Regions from separate parts of the Homo sapiens genome. Here region 2 is linked to region 1. The links are contacts of gene promoters, found by promoter capture Hi-C in blood cells and fetal thymus (Javierre and others, 2016). All regions are on one chromosome and are shown on one strand. The core of a region is centred on a gene start or on the middle of the fragment in contact, and the rest is flanking DNA. Distances in the headings are between cores, read along the strand shown. Region 1 holds the start of KRTAP4-12 (keratin associated protein 4-12). Region 2 has its middle 4.2 kb from the start of EIF1.

What was found. The method cuts DNA at HindIII sites, captures the fragments that hold promoters and counts their contacts. A CHiCAGO score of 5 or more calls a contact.
Region 2: a fragment that was not itself captured here is called in contact with the fragment with the promoter of KRTAP4-12 in region 1 in 2 of 17 cell types (naive CD4 T cells and naive CD8 T cells); the score reaches 6.6 in naive CD4 T cells.

Annotation. Positions count from the first base shown.
Region 1 is chr17:41,122,554-41,127,844 of GRCh38, forward strand. KRTAP4-12 (keratin associated protein 4-12) reads right to left here and starts at 1,629. Exons shown (of 1, transcript NM_031854.3): 1 at 538-1,629. The coding sequence starts at 1,569. The coding sequence ends at 964. RefSeq lists an enhancer at 756-1,309. The HindIII fragment of the contact is 5,176 bases long and covers 1-2,493 here.
Region 2 is chr17:41,681,876-41,687,546 of GRCh38, forward strand. No RefSeq gene overlaps it. Among named protein-coding and RNA genes, the nearest start is that of EIF1, 4.2 kb to the right of the region's middle. RefSeq lists a silencer at 144-223. The HindIII fragment of the contact is 6,365 bases long and covers 425-5,671 here.

The DNA.
Region 1 (5,291 bases), core at 379-2,878:
CAAATATTGCATGTTGTCACTTACAAATGGGAGCTAAACATTGGATACACATGGACACAAAGATGAGAACAATTGGGGACTCCAAAAAGGGGGGAGAGAGGGAGAGAGGAAGGGCTAAAAATGACCCACTGCTCAGTACCTGGTGACAGAATCATTTGTAGCCCAAACCTCAGCATCACACAACATGTAACAAATACGAATATGTACTCTTTGATTCTAAAATAAAAGTTGAAATTATTTTTTAAAAGATGATGAGTTGTGATCAATCTTTCAAAACGTTTCCCCTGTTGTTATATTCATGGATATTTCATGACTTCAGCTTCACTCTTTTTGTCTAAAGAATACAAAATGACTAATTGATTTGCCTAAGCCTGAAAAGACTTTTCTAGAAAAAAACTAGGCAGTGATCGATGTCAGTTGACCTCTGTTAGAAGGTTGACTAATCTGTGCTGTGAGCCCTACAGGTGTAGTTAAATGTAATCACCCAGGACCTAAATATAAAACCCTTTTTAAAAAGAGAATAAGAATCATATTCAATTTTCAGTGCCAATAGAATAGAGGTTTATTTTGGTACATGGAAATAACAAGGTACAAAAATGTTTGCAAAAGACTTTAAGAGAGAGACTTCACTGGACTTCAAGGTTGGAGGCTTTAAGATCTGTGGCCCTACAAATGATGGAGGCAATCTTCAAATTCCTTAGGCATGATGAATAAATGTCCTGAAGTCAAAGAGGTGGGAGGATGTTGGAGGACAATTTGTCAATTTATTAGGAGATTGTCAATGAATTCCTTTGGAAGGAAGGGAGTTTGGACAAAAGGTAGAATGCAAATACAGAATTTCTAAGGATGAGGTTTGCTTATGGGACCCAGATCAATTCTCTTGAACAGTCCGCATGTTTGCAATGAGAGCCTTCATCTGTAGGAAAGGACGTAATAAGGAAGTGGTGTGTTCACAGCAGAGATTTAGCAGCAAGAGGAGGCACAGCACAAGGGGCGGGGGCAGGTGGAGATGACACAGGTTGGGCGATAGCAAGTGGTGTGGCAGGAGACTCGGCCACAGACTGGACGCAGGCAGCAGCAGGGGCGGCAGCAGCTGGATTCACAGCAAGAGGGGCAGCAGCTGCTGGAGATGCAGCAGCTGGGGCGGCAGCAGGTGGGCTGGCAGCACACAGACTGGCAGCACTGGGGTCTGCAGCAGCTGGACACACAGCAGCTGGGGCGGCAGCAAGTGGTCCTGCAGCAGGTGGTCTGACAGCAGCTGGGGCGGCAGCAGGTGGGCTGGCAGCACACAGACTGGCAGCACTGGGGTCTGCAGCAGCTGGACACACAGCAGCTGGGGCGGCAGCAGGTGGTCCTACAGCAGGTGGTCTGACAGCAGCTGGGGCGGCAGCAGGTGGGCTGACAGCACACAGACTGGCAGCACTGGGGCCTGCAGCAGCTGGACACACAGCAGCTGGGGCGGCAGCAGGTGGTCCTGCAGCAGGTGGTCTGGCAGCAGCTGGGGCGGCAGCAGTTCTCCAGGCCACAGCCCTGGTCAGAGCACACAGAGCCACAACAGGAGTTGACCATGGTGTCAGAGGGTGGAGGTTCTCGGTGGGTTTCCAGGAGAGTGAGTGTTCTGAGTTTGATCTCTCCTTGTTCTCTCTTTTGCTTTTTATACCCTGCTGAGAACCACTATGACAATGTGAATAATCTTGTGGTTTGCACATTACTAATAGAGAATCAGTTGTTTTTTAGTAAATTAGATAGTTGTCCTTATCTGGTAAATATTTCTATAAATAGAAAAGGCAACATTTCCTTTTCCTGTTGTATTCTGAGCTATCCAATTTGGTTAAGCCAAGTGAATCAGCTCTCATTCTCCTTCCTTCATCTGATGTGTCTTCTGATGTGTAGACCCATTACATGACATTGTTTGATTGGATTTCATAAGTTAATTCTTTATTTATTTGACTCCTGGATAATAAGTTGAAAATAGATTTTATGATGACTAAATCTCCTCTGCTCTCAAAGAGGTTAAAAATAAATTACATAGAATGCTGGTAGGAAAATGTGATGAAAGATTCATCTTTGGGGGGTGATAGGAGGTAACTTGTGTATAATAAGGAACACTGTGATTCCTTTGAATTTTGTGGCTGGTCAGTGAGATATAAAAGATCCCACTGAAATTCCTGTTTCATGTTATTGACTCTATTTAGCTTGAAACAGATATAATGCAATGATTCATTGCTTTACAAGTAAAAATACATTGGCATGATAGGTCCCTTTATAAATTATTGTTGGCATGTTCTTCAGAGATGGGGATCATAAGGAACATTTTTGTTCTATTTTGTTGGTAAGTCAAGATACCCACTGAATGTGTTTAACTGAAGTGTTATTGAAAGTAGATTTTCTCATACTCGAAAGCTGCTTTTTCTCACAATGTATGTTGGAGATATTTTGCTTGATACATGGAGAAAAGAAACAAAGGATCAAGTTTAATTTCTGTCCTACAGAAGCTTAAACAAGACAAATAAGAAACATGTATAGGAAAGAATTTAGCAACTATTTAGAGAATGGTGTGATTAGTGAACAAAATAACAATTATGTATTTAATCTGTACACTTCCAATGAAAGATGAAACAATACTAATAGTTATAATTTTTTGAGTGCTTACTATGTGTCAGGAATTTTCTGAGTCCTCTATAATTGTTATCTTGTTTATACTTCACAAGGATTCTGCTATGTAGACACAATTTTTCTAAATTCTTTACATCCAAGGTACTTGAGGCCCAGATAGATTGAAGTCACACAGTCTGTAACAGGGAAAGGGCGTCTCTCCTAGAGTGTTCAAGGAACATTTTGCGCATGAACATTTTGCAATTAAATCCCTCCTGATATTTAAAAACAATTATTTATAATTAAAAAGATGCAAGGTATGTTCTCACTCCTAAGTGGGAGTTGAACAATGAGATCACATGGACACAGGGAGGGGAACATCACACACTGGAGCCTGTCGGGGGTGAGGGACAAGGGGAGGGAGAGCATTAGGACAAATACCTGATGCATGTCGGGCTTAAAACCCAGATGACGGATTGATAGGTGCAGCAAACCATCATGGCATATGTATAACTATGTAACAGACCTGCATGTTCTGCACATGTATCCCAAAACTTAAAGTAAAATTTAAAAAAAAAAAATGTATGGTAAGAAACCATCATAAACAAAGTAAAAACACAAATGACTAAATAATAAAAAAAGAACTAGCAATTAATATCACGGACAAAGGGTTAATAGTATATAAAAGACTTCTGAGACTGGACACGGTGGCTCACACCTGTAATCCCAGCACTTTGGGATGCCAAGGCAGGCGGATTGTTTGAGGTTAGGAATTTGAGACCAACTTGGTTAACTTGGCAAAACCCCATCTCTACCAAAAAAACAAAAAAAAGCAAAAAAAAAAAAAAAAATGGCGAGGTGGCATGCATCTGTGGTCTGTGGTCCCAGCTACTCAGGAAGCTAAGGTGGGAGGATTGCCTGAGCCCAGGAGGCGGAGGTTGCAGTGAGCCAAGATTGCACCACTGCACTCCAGCCTGGGTGACAGAAGAAGAAGAAAAAAAGGCTTCTGGAAATAGATAGAAAACAGACCAACAGCCTAATGGGAAAATAAAATGCAAATATTTTACCACCATATAAATATACTCAATCTCATGCATAGTAAGAGAAATGAAATAATATGGTACGATACTTCTCACCTGTTAGATTATCAAAAATTCAAAATCTGATAGCATTCTCTGGAAGTGAGATGATGTGAAAATAGGCATGCTCGTATTTGTCTTGTGAAGGTTTGGCAATAACTAGCAGCATTATTCTTTGACTCAGCTATCCCAATTCCATAAAATATCTCAAAGATACTCAGGTAAATATATGAAAGATATTGCACAAGACGATTCATAAGAGTTCTATTTGGGAAAAAAACTAAAAACTACAACAACACTGGATACAACCCAGGTGTCCTTCAATAGGGTACTGGTGTATAAACTGTGGTGCCTTCCCATGATGGAGTACTATGCAGCTGTCAAAAGGAATAAGGAGTGTCTCTATAGGCTACTATAAATTAATCTCCAGTAGATATTGTTAGGAGACGATAAAGCAGTGGAGGAAAATGTGTACAATTGTTCTGCAACAATGTTTTAAAAATCCAGGATATAAATATTGAAAGTATATTTGCTTACACTTTAAAAAACGACAGAAGAATAGAGAGAGAGGAGATGAGAAAACAGGAAAGAGGGACTTCTGTCAAAACATCAAATTGTGCATTTTAAGTACATGCAGTTTATTTATTATATGTCAATTGTAATTTAATGTAGCTGAAAAAAAAAGAAAAAAATAATGGAAGAATCAACCACATTTGGTTTTGTTGTTGTTGTTGTTGTTGTTGTTGTTTGAGACGGAGTCTCACGTTGTCACCCAGGCTGGAGTGCAGTGGAGCGATCTTGGCTCACTGCAACTTCCACCTCCTGTGTTCAAGCAATTCTCTGCCTCAGCCTCCTGAGTAACTGGGATTACAGGCGCCCACCACCACACCCAGTTAATTTTTGTATTTTTAATAGACATGGGGTTTCACCATCTTGGCCAGGCTGGTCTTGAACACCTGACCTCATGATTCCCTGCCTCAGCCTCGCAAAAGTGCTGAGATTACAGGCGTGAGCCACCGCACCCAGCCCATGTTTGTTTTTTAAAAATTGACCCATAGAGGATGGAGGGAATAGAATAGAGAAGATAGAAACAGACACTAGATTATTTTTGAATGTATCTTTTTCTGTAGCTTGGACTTTGCACCCATGTAAATATTTTACATACTTATAAAAATATTAAATTTTTAAAATCTCTCAAAATCACTAAAACCACCACCACAACAATGGAATCTAACTGTATATCCAGGCATAACTTCAGAGAAAGTAACTATCCCAAGGCCAAAATGTTTTTTTCAAAAACCTGTTAAGTTTGTTTGCAATAACTACACTGTTGTTATTAGTATTGGCAATATTATTCCAAGATTGTTGTGCAAGCATTAGGTAATAAAGAAAATGAGTAATTACATCAAGGAACTGTTATTTTTGGCAAGGAATAAAAGAGATTTAGGAAAAAGATATGAGGTTAAGTAAAAATCCTGTAATTATCAGTAGAAACGCTGATGTACTTTATCTTTTAAGCAAATATTTTCTAGTTGTGGACACTGAAAAAGTTGAGAGAAAATAATCAATTTAGTAATACTCATCATTTTTACATTTCAATCTTTCGTCCCAAATGCC
Region 2 (5,671 bases), core at 2,357-4,856, 560 kb after region 1:
GCTGCTGTGGCCCTTTGAGAGTTAGAATTAATTTGGGGAAGATGGGTGGGTGCAGAAGAGAGGGGAGGCTGCCCAGAGAGGCACCTCCAGGTGACATGTGCTTGGGGCCAGAGCTGCACACTGGGGACAGCTGAGTGTTGGGGGGTGTGCAGAGGTGTGGCTGAAAGGGGATGAGCAGTGTGTCCCAACTGGTGAGGGTTGTCACCACACGGCACCAGCCCTCTCTGCGTTTCCTCCTGTCCTCTCACAGTGAAAGTGAAGGACTTGATGAGTCTTGCTGCTCGATTACTGCTGGATGAACTCTTGGAGACAGCCCTTATATGAGTTACACTAGTTTAAAAAATGAAATGAAATGAAATGAAAGGAGGGCTAGAGGACCTATGCCTAGGTCCAAGGCAGACTGCTCCACCCAAACACACCTGTAAGCTTGTCCCAGGAAAGTGGCCAGATCTGAACTGATTGCCATCAAACATGTCTAATGCTCTTCCCTCCATCTGGAACATCCACCTGCCCTCAGCTAGAGAACACCTCCTTCAGTGCCCGGTCAGAATATAGAACCCCTCTGTGCACCTGTGTCTGGCACCTCCTCCACGCTTCCTGGGCCCCTGGTTCCTTGGAGTGCTGTCTGAACCCTCGCTAGGCTGTGATCTCCTTGAGGCCCAATGCCAGGCCTGGCCTTCTCCACCTCCCTAGGCTGCACTTTGTATCCTCTCCCACCCACCTCGGCAGTTGAGTCCGCAGTTGGGCCACCTGGATGGCCCTGCCCGGGGAAGAGGAACCAAGGGCTCTGGTCTTTATCTCCCTTCCTAAATGAAGTTTCCCCCCATCTATAGGAGCTCCTGCAGGACTCCCTGAAAAAGGAGGAAAGAGAGGAGGGGAAGGAGTGGGAAGCAGGATGGGGAAGACAGATGCTCTGCCAGCAAAGAGGCAAAGAGGAACTGAGCCAAGTCCCCACCGTGGGTTGGCATAAGTGGGTCCCTGGCAAGGGGAGGGAAAGTAAGAACAAGAAGAAAGGCTGGCCGGGTTGGGAGGTGGCGGTAAAATATAACCGCCATACACACACAACACACACTAGCCATAAGGGTACAGCTCAATAGATTTTTGCCACCTGGATCAAGAGGAAGGTCATTTCCAGCACCCCATAAGGTTCCCCCATGTCAGGCCGGGCGTGGCGCAGTGGCTCACGCCTGTAATCCCAACACTTTGGGAGGCCAAGGCAGGCAGATCACTTGAGGTCAGGAGTTCGAGACCAGCCTGACCAACATGGTGAAACCCCATCTCTACTAAAAATACAAAAATTTGCAAGGCGTGGTGGTGGGTGCCTGTAATGCCAGCTACTTGGGAGGCTGAAGCGGGAGGATCACTTGAACCCGGAAGGCGGATGTTCCAGTGAGCCAAGATCGCACCACTACACTCCAGCCTGGGAGACAGAGTGAGATATCATCTCAAAAAAGAAAAAAAAAAAAGTTTCCCCCATGTCCCTTCCCAGCATCTACCCTAGGCAGGTTTGAAGAATTGATGTATTGCCAGCAGAACCCCAGCTGATGCCCGACCTGCACATCTCATCATTACCCTGTGCAGGCTGCAGATCAAGCTGCAACAGGCCCGGGTCTCCCTCCTTCTCCAAGTGGTAAGAACAGCAGCCTTCATTCACTGGGACCTTCTATGTGCATGGGAGCGGGGGAGGGGGAACTATTCTAGTCACTTACATACGTGGGTCGTTAAGTCCCAAATAAGGAATGCAAGAAATGTGGCATTAATTGGACTTTCTTTAAATCAAGTGAGATCCTTGCCAATTAACATCCCACTGGGCTGCTCAGAAATCCAGCCTTGGAAATGACAGGGGCTCCAGCCCTCCCCAGGATTCTCTCTCGCTCACAAGGTTTTCTAGAGCACCAGAGCTACAAGGAGCCCCTAGACCAGATCATCTATCTGCCTTGGTTACCATGGAGATGTCTATTTTCCCAGAGGGTGCAATCCCTTCCTGGAGGGAGATTCTGCTGCTTCCGTGCCACGTTGGTGGCCTTGGAGAATCTTATTGAGGTCGAGGGTCCCAAGGTGTCCTACACAGCCATGCCCTTGTCACATCCCAAGGAGATCACCATGGAGAGGTGCCCACCTCTGTCCCATCCTCATTCAGAGGGGCTCACTCCTGTCCCCTGCTGCTCTCGGAGGCTCTCTCTCTCCCTTCCCCTCTGGGAAACTGGTATAATCTATATAGTGGTTTCATAACTTTACATTTTTATCCGGCTGTACATAGTCTCCTCTTTAAATCCCCTCAACAGCCTATGAGAAGGGCATTATTGTCTCTGTCGTACAGAGGAGAAAATGCAGGCTGGGAGGGGCTAAGTCGCCCAGGCAACAAGATGGAGATGATATTCAGATACAGACACTCCAGAGCCTGTGCTTTGTACCCTGCCCTTGGCTGCCCAGGTGACAGCATCTCAAAGCCAGGAGCACACTAATAAAGAAGCCAGCATTAACAGCAGGCATGCATGCCACTTTCAAACTAATTACTCCTGCCTCCATGATTACTCCTCAGGCTCCTGGGGCTGGGGTAACCTCCCACACTGGAAGGTAGACTTCGGAAGACCCTTCTGGAAATGCTCCCAACTTGGGAAAACAGCGCTTCAGACTTCAGACCCAGGAAGAGATCACCCAGTGCTCCTTTTATGGGGCATACAACTGAAGCCAAGAGGTAAACCAGGTCACCCACAAAGCTGGTGGCAAGTCAAGAACTGAGTCTCAGGCCTGGTGCGGTGGCTCATGCTTGTAATCCCAGCACTTTGGGAGGCCGAGGTAAAGGATTACTTGAGCCTAGCAGTTCAAGACCAGCCTGGGCAACATAGTGAGACCTCATCTCTACCAAAAATTTAAAAAATTAGCTGGCTATGGTAGCACATGCCTGTAGTCCCAGCTACTCAGGAGGCTGAAACGGATCACTTGAGCCTAGGAGTTCAAGTCTGCAATAAGCTATAATGGCACCATTGCACTCCAGCCTAAGTGACAAAGCCAGACCCTGTCTCAAAAAAAAAAAAAAAAAAAGAACTGAGTCTTGGCCGGGTGTTGTGGCTCACACCTGTAATCCCAGCACTTTGGGAGGCCAAGGCGGGCGGATCATTTGAGGTCAGGAGTTCAAGACCAGCCTGGGCAATGTTGTAAAACCCCTTCTCTACCCAAAATACAAAAATTAGCTGGGCATGGTGGCACCTGCCCGTAATCTCAGTTACTTGGGAGGCTGAGGCAGAAGCATAGCTTGAACTCAGGAGGTGAAAGCTGTGGTGAGCCAAGATCGCACCACTTCACTACAGCCTGGACGACAAAGCGAGATTCTGTCTCAAAAAATATTTTAGTGTGACAAAATATTGCATGCACACTGGGAAGGACAGCTCCAATTCATTCATTCAAACTCTCTCCCAAAACCCTTTCCAGCAGAACAATGTCCGTCAGGGCAAAGTGTTGTGGGATGTCAGGGACTCCCAACAGAGGGACCCGCTGAAGCCATGGCAGAAGAACATAAATTGTGAAGATTTAATGGATATTTATTAGTTCCCCAAATTAATACTTTTATAATTTCTTACGCCTGTCTTTACTGCAATCTCTGAACATAAATTGTGAAGATTTCATGGACACTTATCACTTCCCCAATCAATACCCTTGGGATTTCCTATGCCTGTCTTTACTTTAATCTCTTAATCCTGTCATCATAAGCTGAGGAGGATGTATGTAGCCTCAGGACCGTGATGATTGCATTAACTGCACAAATTGTTTGTAGAGCTTGTGTGTTTGAACAATATGAAATCTGGGCACCTTGAAAAAAGAACAGGATAACAGCAATGTTCAGGGAACAAAGGAGATAACTTTAAACTCTGACTGCCCGTGAGCCGGGCAGAACAGAGCCATATTTCTCTTCTTTCAAAAGCAAATGGGAGAAATATCGCTGAATTCTTTTTCTCAGCAAGGAACATCCCTGAGAAAGAGGATGCGTCCCTGAGGGAGGCCTCTGAAATGGCCACTTTGGGGACAGCTGTCTTTTACGGTCATCGCTGAGGGATGAAATAAGCCCCGGTCTCCTGTAGCGCTCCCAGGCTTATTAGGACGAGGAAATTCCCGCCTAATAAATTTTGGTCAGACCGGTTGTCTGTTCTCAAACCCTGTCTCCTGATAAGATATCATCAATGACAATGTGTGTCTGAAACTTCATTAGCAATTTTAATTTCGCCCCGGTCCTGTGGTCCTGTGGTCTTGCCCTGCCTCCATTTGCCTTGTGATATCTTATTACCTTGTGAAGCACATGATCTCTGTGACCCACACCCTATTCGTACACTCCCTCCCCTTTTGAAAATCACTAATAAAAACTCGCTGGTTTTGCGGCTTGGGGGACATCATGGAACCTGCCGACATGTGATGTCTCCCCCGGACACCCAGCTTTAAAATTTCTCTCTTTTGTACTCTGTCCCTTTATTTCTCGGACCAGCCAACACTTAAGGAAAATAGAGAAGAACCTACGTGAAATGTCGGGGGTGAATTTTGCCTGATAGTAAAGGTTCCCAAGTTGGCTGACTGGGGCCTTAGCTTCTCAAAAGGGGAAGACCATGAGACTGGGATGCCCATGACCTAGCCATGGTTCCTCCTTCCTGATGTCAAGGAAACCAAACTATTAATCAAGTTTATTTAGTAAATATAGAATCAAAACAAAGTATCAGGCCAGGCACACTGGCTCCTGCCTGTAATCCCAGCACTTTAGGAGGCCAAGGCAGGGGGACTGCTTTAAGCAGTTGAGGCTGCAGTAAGCCATGATCATGCCACTGCATTCCAGCCAGTCTGGGTGACAGAGTGAGACCTTGTCTATATATATATATATATACACATACATATATATATACATATATACACAAATACACACACACACATATATACACACACTCATATACATATATATATATATACACACACATACACATATATATATCAGGTACACCTAGCATTTCCTCCCTCAGAGTTTTTCTGAGTTTTCTGGTGGGCACATGCCCTGCCCCACAGTGGACTCCTTCCTACCCTCTGTCAGCCAGAATGCTGCCTCCCCAGAGGCCTTCTCTGACCACCCCATCTGAAGGAGCCTGGCCCTTTCACATCACCCTGTTTACCTCCTTTTTGGCACCTCTCACAATCTGTCATTATCCTTTTTTTTTTTTTTTTGAGACATAGTCTTGCTCTGTCGCCCAGGCTGGAGTGCAATGGCGCCATCTTGGCTCACTGCAGTCTCCTCTTCCCGGGTTCAAATAATTATTGTGCCTCGGCCTCCCGAGTAGCTGGGACTACAGGCACACGCCACCACGCCCAGCTAATTTTTGTATTTTTAGTAGAGACAGGGTTTCACCATATTGGCCAGGCTGGTCTCGAACTCCTGACCTCGGGTGATCCGCCCACCTCAGCCTCCCAAAGTGCTGGGATTACAGGCATAAGCCACAGCGCCCAGCCTCATTATCTTATTATTTGTTTAGTGGCTCTCTCTCCCGCTGGCCTTCAACTCCACAAGGGCAGTGACCCTGACTGTCAGGGACATAAACCAGCAGTCCATGGGCATGCATATTTTTGTTTGGCTTGCAGTGTTGTATCAAAAATTCAATTTATTCCTGTAATCCCAGCACTTTGGAAGGCCGAGGCAGGC